Linked DNA regions of Homo sapiens: all the other regions are linked to region 1. Evidence: promoter capture Hi-C in human tissues and cell types (Jung and others, 2019). All regions are on one chromosome and are shown on one strand. Each heading gives the region's core, a stretch centred on a gene start or on the middle of the fragment in contact. The rest is flanking DNA. Distances are from core to core; before and after follow the strand shown.

Evidence for each region. The method cuts DNA at HindIII sites, captures the fragments that hold promoters and counts their contacts. A contact is called where the count stands out against the background at its distance.
Region 2: a fragment that was not itself captured here is called in contact with the fragment with the promoter of TRMT10B in region 1 in 1 of the 25 tissues and cell types used here (dorsolateral prefrontal cortex).
Region 3: a contact is called between a fragment that was not itself captured here and the fragment with the promoter of TRMT10B in region 1, in 1 of the 25 tissues and cell types used here (dorsolateral prefrontal cortex).
Region 4: a fragment that was not itself captured here is called in contact with the fragment with the promoter of TRMT10B in region 1 in 1 of the 25 tissues and cell types used here (IMR-90 fibroblasts).

Annotation. Positions count from the first base shown.
Region 1 is chr9:37,752,550-37,755,061 of GRCh38, reverse strand. It overlaps TRMT10B (tRNA methyltransferase 10B), which reads right to left and starts at 1,257. Exons shown (of 9, transcript NM_144964.4): 1 at 1,210-1,257. RefSeq lists a silencer at 1,113-1,347. The HindIII fragment of the contact is 14,807 bases long and covers 1-2,512 here.
Region 2 is chr9:37,558,181-37,560,692 of GRCh38, reverse strand. The region is part of intron 1 of FBXO10 (F-box protein 10); the gene reads left to right. Among named protein-coding and RNA genes, the nearest start is that of FBXO10, 17 kb to the left of the region's middle. The HindIII fragment of the contact is 7,023 bases long and covers 1-2,512 here.
Region 3 is chr9:37,578,755-37,581,266 of GRCh38, reverse strand. No RefSeq gene overlaps it. Among named protein-coding and RNA genes, the nearest start is that of FBXO10, 3.6 kb to the right of the region's middle. The HindIII fragment of the contact is 3,211 bases long and covers 1-2,512 here.
Region 4 is chr9:37,617,436-37,619,947 of GRCh38, reverse strand. It overlaps a transcript of FRMPD1 not described here. Among named protein-coding and RNA genes, the nearest start is that of TOMM5, 26 kb to the right of the region's middle. The HindIII fragment of the contact is 7,750 bases long and covers 1-2,512 here.

The DNA of each region.
Region 1 (2,512 bases), core at 8-2,507:
CCTGACCTCGCGACCCACCTGTCTGGGCCTCCCAAAGTGCTAGGATTACAGGCGTGAGCCACCACACCCGACCCTGTGACCTTTATATAACTCTCCCTTCCCCAATCCTGGCAGCACCTTTGTATTTCCTATCTTATGAATTTGAGTGCTGCTCTGGTTTGAATGTTTGTCCCCTTCTCACATTCAGGTTGAAACTTAATTGCCATTGTAACAGTATCAAGAAGTGAGATTTCATTTATTTTTCATTTCTTCATTAAACATCTTTTCTGAGCCTCCAATTATGGGTCCGATGCTGAATATTCATTACTTTCGTTCAACAAAGCTACTAAGCACCTGACATAATAGTACATCCTGGGGACTTGGGGATGACATTCGTTCTGCTTTCATGGGGCTCCAATTATCTGACCCTGCCTTGCATGACAGCTGTCTACCTGTTTCCCCACTAGATTATAAACCCAGGGAAGAATTGGAAGAATTCACCTGTACACCCTCAGTACCCGAGCCCTGTGAGCATCCTAAGTATTTGATGATCACCACTCTTCTGCTTAGAACCCTGCAGTACTCTCCATTTCACTGACAGTAAATAGCCCAAATCCATACAATGACCTATGCAGATCACTAAGGTCTACCTTTCTCGTTTCCTCTGCACTCCGGGGTCTATTTGCTGTTCCTCAAACATACCCTTCAAGGCCTTTACATTCGCCGTTCTCTTTACCCTCAATGCTCTTCCCTAAGACACTCACAGACTACCTTCCTCTCCTCATTCATATTACTATCCAACATAACCTATTTTACTTGTTGTCGGAACCTCCTCCATCCCTTCAATGTAGGCAAGTGTTGTTTGCTTATAGATGCTTAATAAATACTTGCTGAGTTCATAAATCCTCCACTCCGCACCCCCACCCTAGGTTGGCAGAGGCCTCAGACCTTTGCTAGCCTAACTCCCACCTGATGGGTACCTACACTGCCGCTAAGTGATGGCACATCGAATTCAGCCTGAGAGCACCCCGCCTGCGGGTCTCTCCCGGCCCACAGGCTGAGCGTGCGAGTGGAAGCAGGAAGGGAAAGTATCAGGAAGGTGGAGTACCACAGGCCACATGACTGCTAAACGCTGCTTTCTCAACGTCCGCCCCACCCGCGAGGGAGGCGGACGTCCCAGGACAGACCCCGCAGCCCCCAGCCAGCCCCCTTAACCAGCGGACAGCGTACCTGATCCCCTCACCCCCACGCAGCGGCAGCGGCGCGCATCGGATCCCCCCCGCCCCCGGCCTCGCTTCCGCTTCGTAACTCCGCTCCGAATGGCATTCTGGAAATTGTAGTTTTTCACCTGCAGGGTGCTCGTGGGGCCGAGCCGGAGCGGAGGCTGCGGCTTCTACTCCCAGCCCTGGCGGTAGGGAGCTGCGTCCTGCTGTGGTGGTTGCCCACCTTCTCTGAACCCCTGTCTCCCCGTCTGCTGGACAGCTATTACAACCCCAACCCTTTACCAACTTCACAGGGCTCCTACAGGTGCTCTGTTGGTTGTCAAGGGCTGGACATTGCGAAACTGGGGTGTGTGAAGCAAAAAAATTCTAAGGCCCGCACCCGACTGAATGGACCTCCCTCTCTGCCGAAGGAAACCTTAAAAACTAGTTATGGCCATTACAGGAAGCGGGAGTGGAGCGGGGCGGTTGGACATGCACTGATATTATATCCCATCCCTTGCGGAGTTTAGGCCCAACGGGGACTGACACAACAGAATCTTTGTAGAACTAAAATATCAAATTCCAACCTGATATCATATTGTGTCCGGAAATGGTGGATTCTTGGTCTCACTGACTTCAAGAATGAAACCGCGGACCATCGCGGTGTTACAATTCTTAAAGACTGCGTGTCTGGAGTTTCTTCCTTCTGGCGGGTTCATGGTCTCGCTAGCTTCAGGAGTGAAGCTGCAGATCTTCGCAATGAGTGTTAAATCTCTTAAGAGGGCACACCTGGAGTTGTTCCTTCGCTCTCGGTGGGTTCGTGGTCACACGGGCCTCAAGAAAGAGCTGCAAATACAGATCTTCACGGCGAGTGTTATAGCTCACAAAGACAGTAGGGACCCAAAGGGTTAGCAAGCAACAAGATTTATTACAAAGAACAAAGCACCCACAGTCCAGAAAGGCAACCCCAACGGGTTGCCGCTGCTTGCTCGGGCAGCCTGTTTTTATTCTCCTATCTGGCCCCACCCACATCCTGCTGATTGGTCCACTTTACAGAGAGCCGATTGGTCTGTTTTACAGAGAGTTGATTGGTCCGTTTTGACAGGGTGCTGATTGGTGCGTTAACAATCCCTGAGCTAGACACAAAAGTTCTCCAAGTCCCCACTAGATTAGCTAGACACAGAGTGTTGATTGGTATATTTACAAACCCTGAGCTAGACACAGAGTGCTGATTGGTGCATTTACAAACCTTGAGCTAGATACAGAGTGCCGATTGGTGCATTCACAATCCCTTAGCTATACATAAAGATTCTCCAAGTCCCCACCAGATT
Region 2 (2,512 bases), core at 7-2,506, 190 kb after region 1:
GAGGCCCCAGTGGTAAAACGGAAAGGCAAAACTTGAATGCATTAAAAAAAATAAAATAAAAAGTGTTACCTTGTTCTAAGAAGTCCCTGTTGTTTCATGAATCTCCATGGATTAGTGTAAAGATATAGTAAATAAAGCCAAATGGAATGATAGGAAATGTGCATGTGTGCTCGGAGTCAAGAGGGGGCAATTGTTGGCTTCATTCTAGATACAGAGCCCTGGAGTTGGGTACACAGGCAAGTTTGGGGGAAAACAAATGCTGAAGGGTTGACAGTAACCTGCTAGGAAATCCCCCTTCCCCTGAGAGGCCAGTGACTAAACCATGTGCTTCCTACTATAGGTGGGCTTCTTGGAACCCCAAGAAACCGAAGCTCCAGTAGTTTCTACGTCAGGTGGCTTGGCCCCAAATCCCCCAGACACCCTCACATCATCCTAAGGGAAAGAAATTACAATTAATATTTGCAAAATTGTGAGTTCCTGCCCTCACTGTTCCACCTAAATACCTCTCCTGGATGGATCTCCTTAAAATATAGCTCTGATCAGGCCACTTCCCTTCTGAGGAATCTATAATAGACAGTACAAGCTTCTTAGTCTGGCATTCAGGGCCTTTCCCATCATGCAACTTGTGAAAGAGGGTCGAGCACCAGTGGCTCCAAGGGGTCAGAACTGACACCACCTGGGGAAGAGTAGTGAAGTCAATCTCAAGGTGTCCGAGGGCTTTATAATAATGCCCTTTAGAGTTTCATATGCTCTTTCAGCCTCTGCTATGGTAACAAACAATCTGCAAGTTCTTAGTGCCTTAACCCAAACAAAGGTGTATTTTTCATGCATGGTGTTTGTCCATCTTGGCTTGGTCGGGATCTCTGCTTACTCTAATCATTTAAGGATCCAGGTTCCTAGAGTAACCGTCATCTCAAATGTTGCCAGTTGCTGTGCCACAGAGAAAAGCAAGCTGTGGATGATCCTGCATAGGCAATGAAGTGCTCTAGTCGAGAAGTAACGCACATCTCTTCTACTCAAAACCCATTGGTTAGTACTAGTCTTGTGGCCCCATTTGACCTCAGGAGGGATCAGATGTACAATCTTGTCATGTGCCCAGAAGGAAAGAAAACTGGAAGCAGTTGATGAAGAGCATTGATTCCCAATGTAATGTGCTTTCAATTTTTTAATCATCACAGCAAGCCTTTGGGTGCTATCAAGGTCCCCAATTTATATATGAGGAACCTGAGGCCCAGAGAGGTTAAGTGACTTGTTCAAGGTCACCTGCAACTTGACCCCAGGTCTTTTGGCTTTGAAATGATTGGTCTTTGCATGATACAGAGACAGCTGCTTCACTGAAAGGGTTGAAGCTGAGGAAGAAGGATGCTGCATCAAAGTGTGGGTGGGGCCCTTTATCACAATCACCAGGGAGCTTGTTAAAAATGCACATAATTGGTTCCACTCCAGAGATTCTGATTCTGGAGGTCTGAGATGAAGCTAGGAATAGGCCCCAGGTGATTCTCAGGTGATGACTGAAGAGCCACGATTAAAGAATCACTGCTATGGGAGGTCCTACTAAGTCTGGCTTAAAGATTTTCTTTTTTCGGCCAGGCGCGGTGGCTCATGCCTGTAATCCCAGCACTCTGGGAGGCCGAGGCGGGCGGATCACCTGAGGTCAGGAGTTCAAAACAAACCTGACCATGGTGAAACCTCGTCTCTACTAAAAATACAAAAAATTAGCCGGGCGTGGTGGTGCGCGTCTGTAATCGCAGCTACTCGGGAGGCTGAGGCAGGAGAATCAGTTAAACCTGGGAGGTGGAGGTTGCGGTGAGCTGAGGTCACACCATTGCACTCCAGCCTGGGCAACAAGAGCGAAACTCCATCTCAAAAAAAAAAAAAAGATTTTCTTTCTTCTTGATCTCTATAAGCTGCAGTAGTGCTTAATTCCTTCTATCTCACATTGTTATTAGCTATGACAGCAAATGGTTGCTATCACCTAATGGGTGATACATTAATTATTCACCTAAAATTTGAGGTGGGGGCATGATGGGGGCTCATTTCTGATTATTCGTTTACTTAAAAACACTGTTATTAAGCCTGTACTTTGTGCTGCATATTGGATGGTATGTGGGGTTCTTGCTGTATTCTCTGTAAGTGAATTATGATAGCCTAGGGTATTCATTATTGATGAGCTACTATGGGAAATGGGGGAAACCCATCTGGGAGAGAAATTGTCAGTGCTGGATACTATGGGATGTCACATGGGGCACACAATGCATTGACTGGGTTGAACACTTATATAGTAAAGTAAACTAGGCTCGAGTTGAGAAGCAGAGATGCATTTATGAGGGTTGGTGGTTGCAATTTGGGTCTCTCTTATTCCAAGTCCCTCCTGAGACTTGGAATACCAACCATTAGCAATAGATCCCAGGAGAACCCTAATGGAAAGTCCTGCAAAAGACCATATGGAAGCCTCTCACCTGGAAGGTGGTATAGATTAGGTTCCTTTAGTGTTAGCTGATTCACTCTTGAA
Region 3 (2,512 bases), core at 5-2,504, 170 kb after region 1:
GTATTTTCATTTCCACTTAAGTATATAGAGGCCAAAAATGCAAAAAAGAAAGAAACTATTACATAAACAGATGTACAAAGATAATACTGCATTTGAAATACAGTCACTTGAAATGTTCACTAATCAGCTTACATATTCAAGTATAAATTCGGTGAACAAAATGATTTAGGGACAGCGATATGTAATGTAAAAATTGTGGGTTGTTGGAAAGTAGAGATCTGTCTACATGGAAAGAATACTAGAATTAGGATTTCAATGTCCTAGATTATAGTTTCAGCTCTGCTATTTATCATGTGACTATGTGAGTCAGATTTTTTAGTTGCAAACACCAAAATCCAATTTTGACAGAAAAAGAAAAGTATTTTATTAAAAGGATAACAGGGAGTTCAGTATCACCAGGAGGCCTAGAGAATTAGGCTTGGAGAGTAGGCAACTGGAACATCACCCTTTGTTCCTTGGTCATACTCCACAGAGCTGGGGCAGTGAGGACGCCATTTCTGCTGAACATTAGGTGCCACCACTTACTTTGCCAAAGCCACATGCACAGAACCCTGGATCATGGCAGCCAGTGTTGCTCTAAGAACTTGCCGCACTTGCCATGGTCCCAGAGAAAATTATTCCAGAGACTTTATTGTGTCTCTGGTACTTAATTCAAAATCAAGAGTAATTTGTAGCATGATAGAATCACAAGGAGAAGCAGAGAAAATACCTGGAATTTCCACTTCTATAGTGAAAGGCATGTTCTGCTTCCCAGCAAACTCATAAACAAGGAATTCCCAAATGTAGGAAGGGACCTCAGATGCTGGGCAGCCAAAAAGCATGGCATGTCCACTATGTTGACCTGGGACACCACTCTGTGTGAGCCTACTTTTTCTGGAAAGCAAAGTAAATAAAGCTCCCATGGCTGAGGAGATTTTGTGTGTTCACTTATACATTTGCCAGTAAACACCAGCCAGGTGCCAGTGTATAAAGATGAGTAAGTTTCCTCTCGAGTCTAATGGTAGGATAGAGGCATGCAGAGGTGAGATGAGGGCAGAAAGAAGAGAGGGCTCAACTGTAGTTTGTGAATGATGTTCTTATATTTAAGTAGTTATATTTTTGGCTGGGCGCATTGGCTTACACCTGTAATCCCACCACTTTGGGAGGCCGAGGCAGGTGGATTACCTGAGGTCAGGAGTTTGAGACCAGACTAATCAATATGGTGAAACCCTGTCTCTACTGAAAATGCGAAAGCCTGTAGTCCCAGCTACTTGGGAGGCTGAGACAGAAGAATCGCTTGAACCCAGGAGGTGGAGGTTGCAGTGAGCTGAGACTGAGCCACTGCACTCCAGCCTGGGCAACAGAGCGAGACTCTGTTTCAAAAAAAAAAAAAAAAAAAAAAAACCCCTGGCCAGGTGTGGTGGCTCATGCCTGTAATCCCAGAGCTTTGGGAGGCTGAGGCGGGCGAATCACCTGAGGTCGGGAGTTTGAGACCAGCCTGGCCAACATGGTGAAACCCCGTCTCTACTAAAATACAAAAATTAGCTGGGCCTAGTGGCTGGTACCTGTTAATACCAGCTACGGGGGAGGCTGAAGCAGGACAATCGCTTGAACCTGGGAGGTGGGGGTTGCGGTGAGCCAAGATCATGCCATTGCACTCCAGTCTGGGCGACAAGAGCAAAACCCCATCTCAAAACAAACAAAAATTCCCATGTGGCACGTGATGCTTGCCCCACTAATAGGGAAGACAGCTTGCTCTTGTAGGACACTGCTGTAGCACTTTGAAAGTCAGCTGTTTTATACAAATACCAAAATGATAATGTTAGCTGGCACAAATCCAGAAACTCAAGCTTTTGATTGTTTATTGACAGTCATATCTGGACTGCCAGTTTCATGGAGTAAGATACTTTTCAAAGGATTAAATATGGCATAGCTTTGTCAGTCAGCAAGGTAAATCATCAGGCTCATTGCAGTGTGAGACTACCCCTGTGGTCTTTCTACTATACCTAGCTACTGTACAACTTTGTGTCTTAAAATAAATTGTTGGCTTTAGGTTTTAGTGTTTGGTTTTCTTATTTATAAAAGAGACCAGCTACATGGTAACTTAGACCTCACCCAGAATCATACCACATTCACCATATGGTAATAATAGATGGAATACATTTTTATGGAATATATTCTATAGAACCAGGGACTGAAAAAGGTCAGTAGGACCACGGGGTCAATTATTTCAGGCCACAATTTCGTGTAATAATTTCTTTTTCATAGTATTCTTGGTAAATTATGTTTCTATAGCTGATATTCTCTCGTAAATTCCGGAGGTCTGTATCCAACTCCTTTTCTTTTTTAGAGACAGGGTCTTGCTTCGTTGCCCAGGTTGGTCTCAAACTCCTGGGTTCAAGCGATCCTCCTGCCTCAGCCTCCTGAGTAGCTGGGATTACAAGTGAACTGCTTTTTTTTTTTTTTTTTTGAGACACAGTCTCACTCTGCCACTCAGGCTGGAGTGCAGTGGCGCACGATCTCTGCTCACTGC
Region 4 (2,512 bases), core at 8-2,507, 140 kb after region 1:
AATCTGGGAATACAGGTTTTTTTTTTTTTTTCCCCTGTCTACTCAGTGTCAATTGGCACCTACAAAAAGCAGTATGTAGCTAGTAAGCACCTTCACTATATCAAGCTAATCCACCAAGACTATACGGCAGGGTCCCCACATAATATGTGACTAAACCTTTTTCGATTCAATTTCTTTTTTTTTTTTTTCTGAGCTGGAGTCTCGCTGTGTCGCCCAGGCTGGAGTGCAGTGGCACAATCTCGGCTCACCACAACCTCCAATTCCTGGGTTCAACTGATTCTCCTGCCTCAGCCTCCCAAGTAGCTGGGATTATAGGCACCCACAACCACACCTGTCTAATTTTTGTACTTTTAGTAGAGATGGGGTTTTGCTATGTTGGCCAGGCGGGTCTCAAACTCCTGACCTCAGGTGATCCACCCACCTTGGCCTCCCAAAGTGCTGGGATTTCAGGCATGAGCCACTGCACTGGCCTTGATTCAATTTCTCTGCAGCTTTTGCCCTACTCCATTTCTATATTAATACAACTCTCTTTTCTTCCTCCTACCCTCTTTACCCTTCTCCCACAAACATTTGTTGAGCCCTTGCTATGTGCCAAGCCCTGAAGTAAGTATAAGGAAATAACAAAGATCTCTGACCTCAAGTATTTTCCAGTTATAGGCCCGGGTTGTGAATATCACAAAGGGGGACAGTTACAGGTGGGATGCATGTCACAGAGATGTCAGGAAAGGTTTACATGGAAAAAAAATGGAAACGTTCCCAAGTTTTCCCTGTTTGGAAAAAATTTCATCCGCACTCCAACCTGAATTCTGTTCCACTTTAGAGCTCTGTCATAGAACCTTATGGCATGTCGGTTTACATTAGTCACTTGGGGCTGGGTTTATCTCCTCCATTCCATTCAGTATAATTCACTCCACATAAATCCTGTGCTAGGCTGTGCTGTGGGAGAGGAAAATGATAAAGTCAATCCCAGGACTGGCTCAGCAGGGAGCTCACAGGAGGAAAGCTACGCAACAGAAGGATAAACCAAGTGCAACAGAGGATGACATGGACACAGATTTGCCTCCTCCCACTAAAGGAGGCAAATGCCATGGAGTGCTTTAGGGAAGAAGTGGCATTTGAGAGGAGCTTTGAAAGGTGAGCAAGATTTCTCTAGTCAGAGACCGAAAGAGAGATGATGCTTTGTAACAGATTCAGAGAAGGCAAGAAGAAGGGGAAAGAATGAGACAGTGTGTTTGAGGGAACTGCAGTAAACCAATGAGGCTGGCATATAGGGTATATGGTCAGGGAGAGGTGTATGATTGGAAGAAAAAAACCTGGAAAGGTTAATTTGGACCAATCTGTGGGGGCTTTCAATACTTGTAAGGTATTGACACTTAATATGTAGGCTATTTCCCACTCAAAAATGCTTCTCATTTTGGGGAAGCATTTTTGGCTGGGAAATTTATGTGCCCAAAGTTGTTTTGTATGGATTGTGGATGAGAAAAGAGACAAGGAGACCAATCGGGATGAGTGTAGTATTCCAGGTAAAAGAGGCTGTTGTTGCTGATGAGAAGTAGCAGTGGAGAGGGAGAACTGCCACTCTTGGGTCAGGGGCTGAGTGTCACCTATTCATTTGTCCCCTGTAACAGCCAGCACTGTTCCCCCCTGTTTCATAAATATTTGTGAGATTGAACTGTATTAAAGATTCAATTTGAAAGTATGAATTTATGTCTTGCAGATGTCTTGTCCTTTTTGTTTTAATCCTGTCATAAAAGTCATTCAATTCCAAGTCACAGTATTGTCCCTGCCGAAGGCTATCATTATCTGGCAGTTATGTGGCACCTCAGAGCAGTGGCACCTCATTTGCAGTCCTTAATTGCCTCATGCACCATTTTAATTGGTCTGCGATTGTCTGTGTGGACAGACCTCATTTCCTTTCTGGAGTCAGCTGGGGCTGCCCCACCCTTTCCTACAAGCTCAGTCATCCGAACATCACTAGCTGAGAAGACTCAGGAAGGCTGCTGAGCTCCAAAGCATGCAAAGAATGGGCTCTCATGGGGAGTTCTAAAGACCAGAGGGCTGCTGGGACCCACGAAAGGGCAGCTGTCCAGTGAACTCAGAGTCACTTTAGGCAGGCCTTTTTAGGAAAGTAGGAAGGAAGGTACAACAGGGGCAAACTGTAGGGACCGCCCAGAGTGTGACACAAGAATTCCAGATGAGGTTTGATAATTACATCAGTAGGGATCTTTAAAAATGGTTAAGATGACCCATTTAGAAAGTAATCCACCTCAAGGGATGGCTTAGAATTAGGGAATTAATGAGGACACAGTGTCTCCCGAATCCGGTCAAGTGGTCAGATTGGATTGGGATCATGAACTCAATTTAATCAAAAGATAATAATGGCTAATTTTACTGAGCATTTACTATGTGCCAGATACTTTTCTAAGCACTGTACCTACATTAGCATATTTAATCCTCACAATAATTCTATAAAGTGAGTGCTATCATTTCTCCATTTTACATGTGAGGAAAC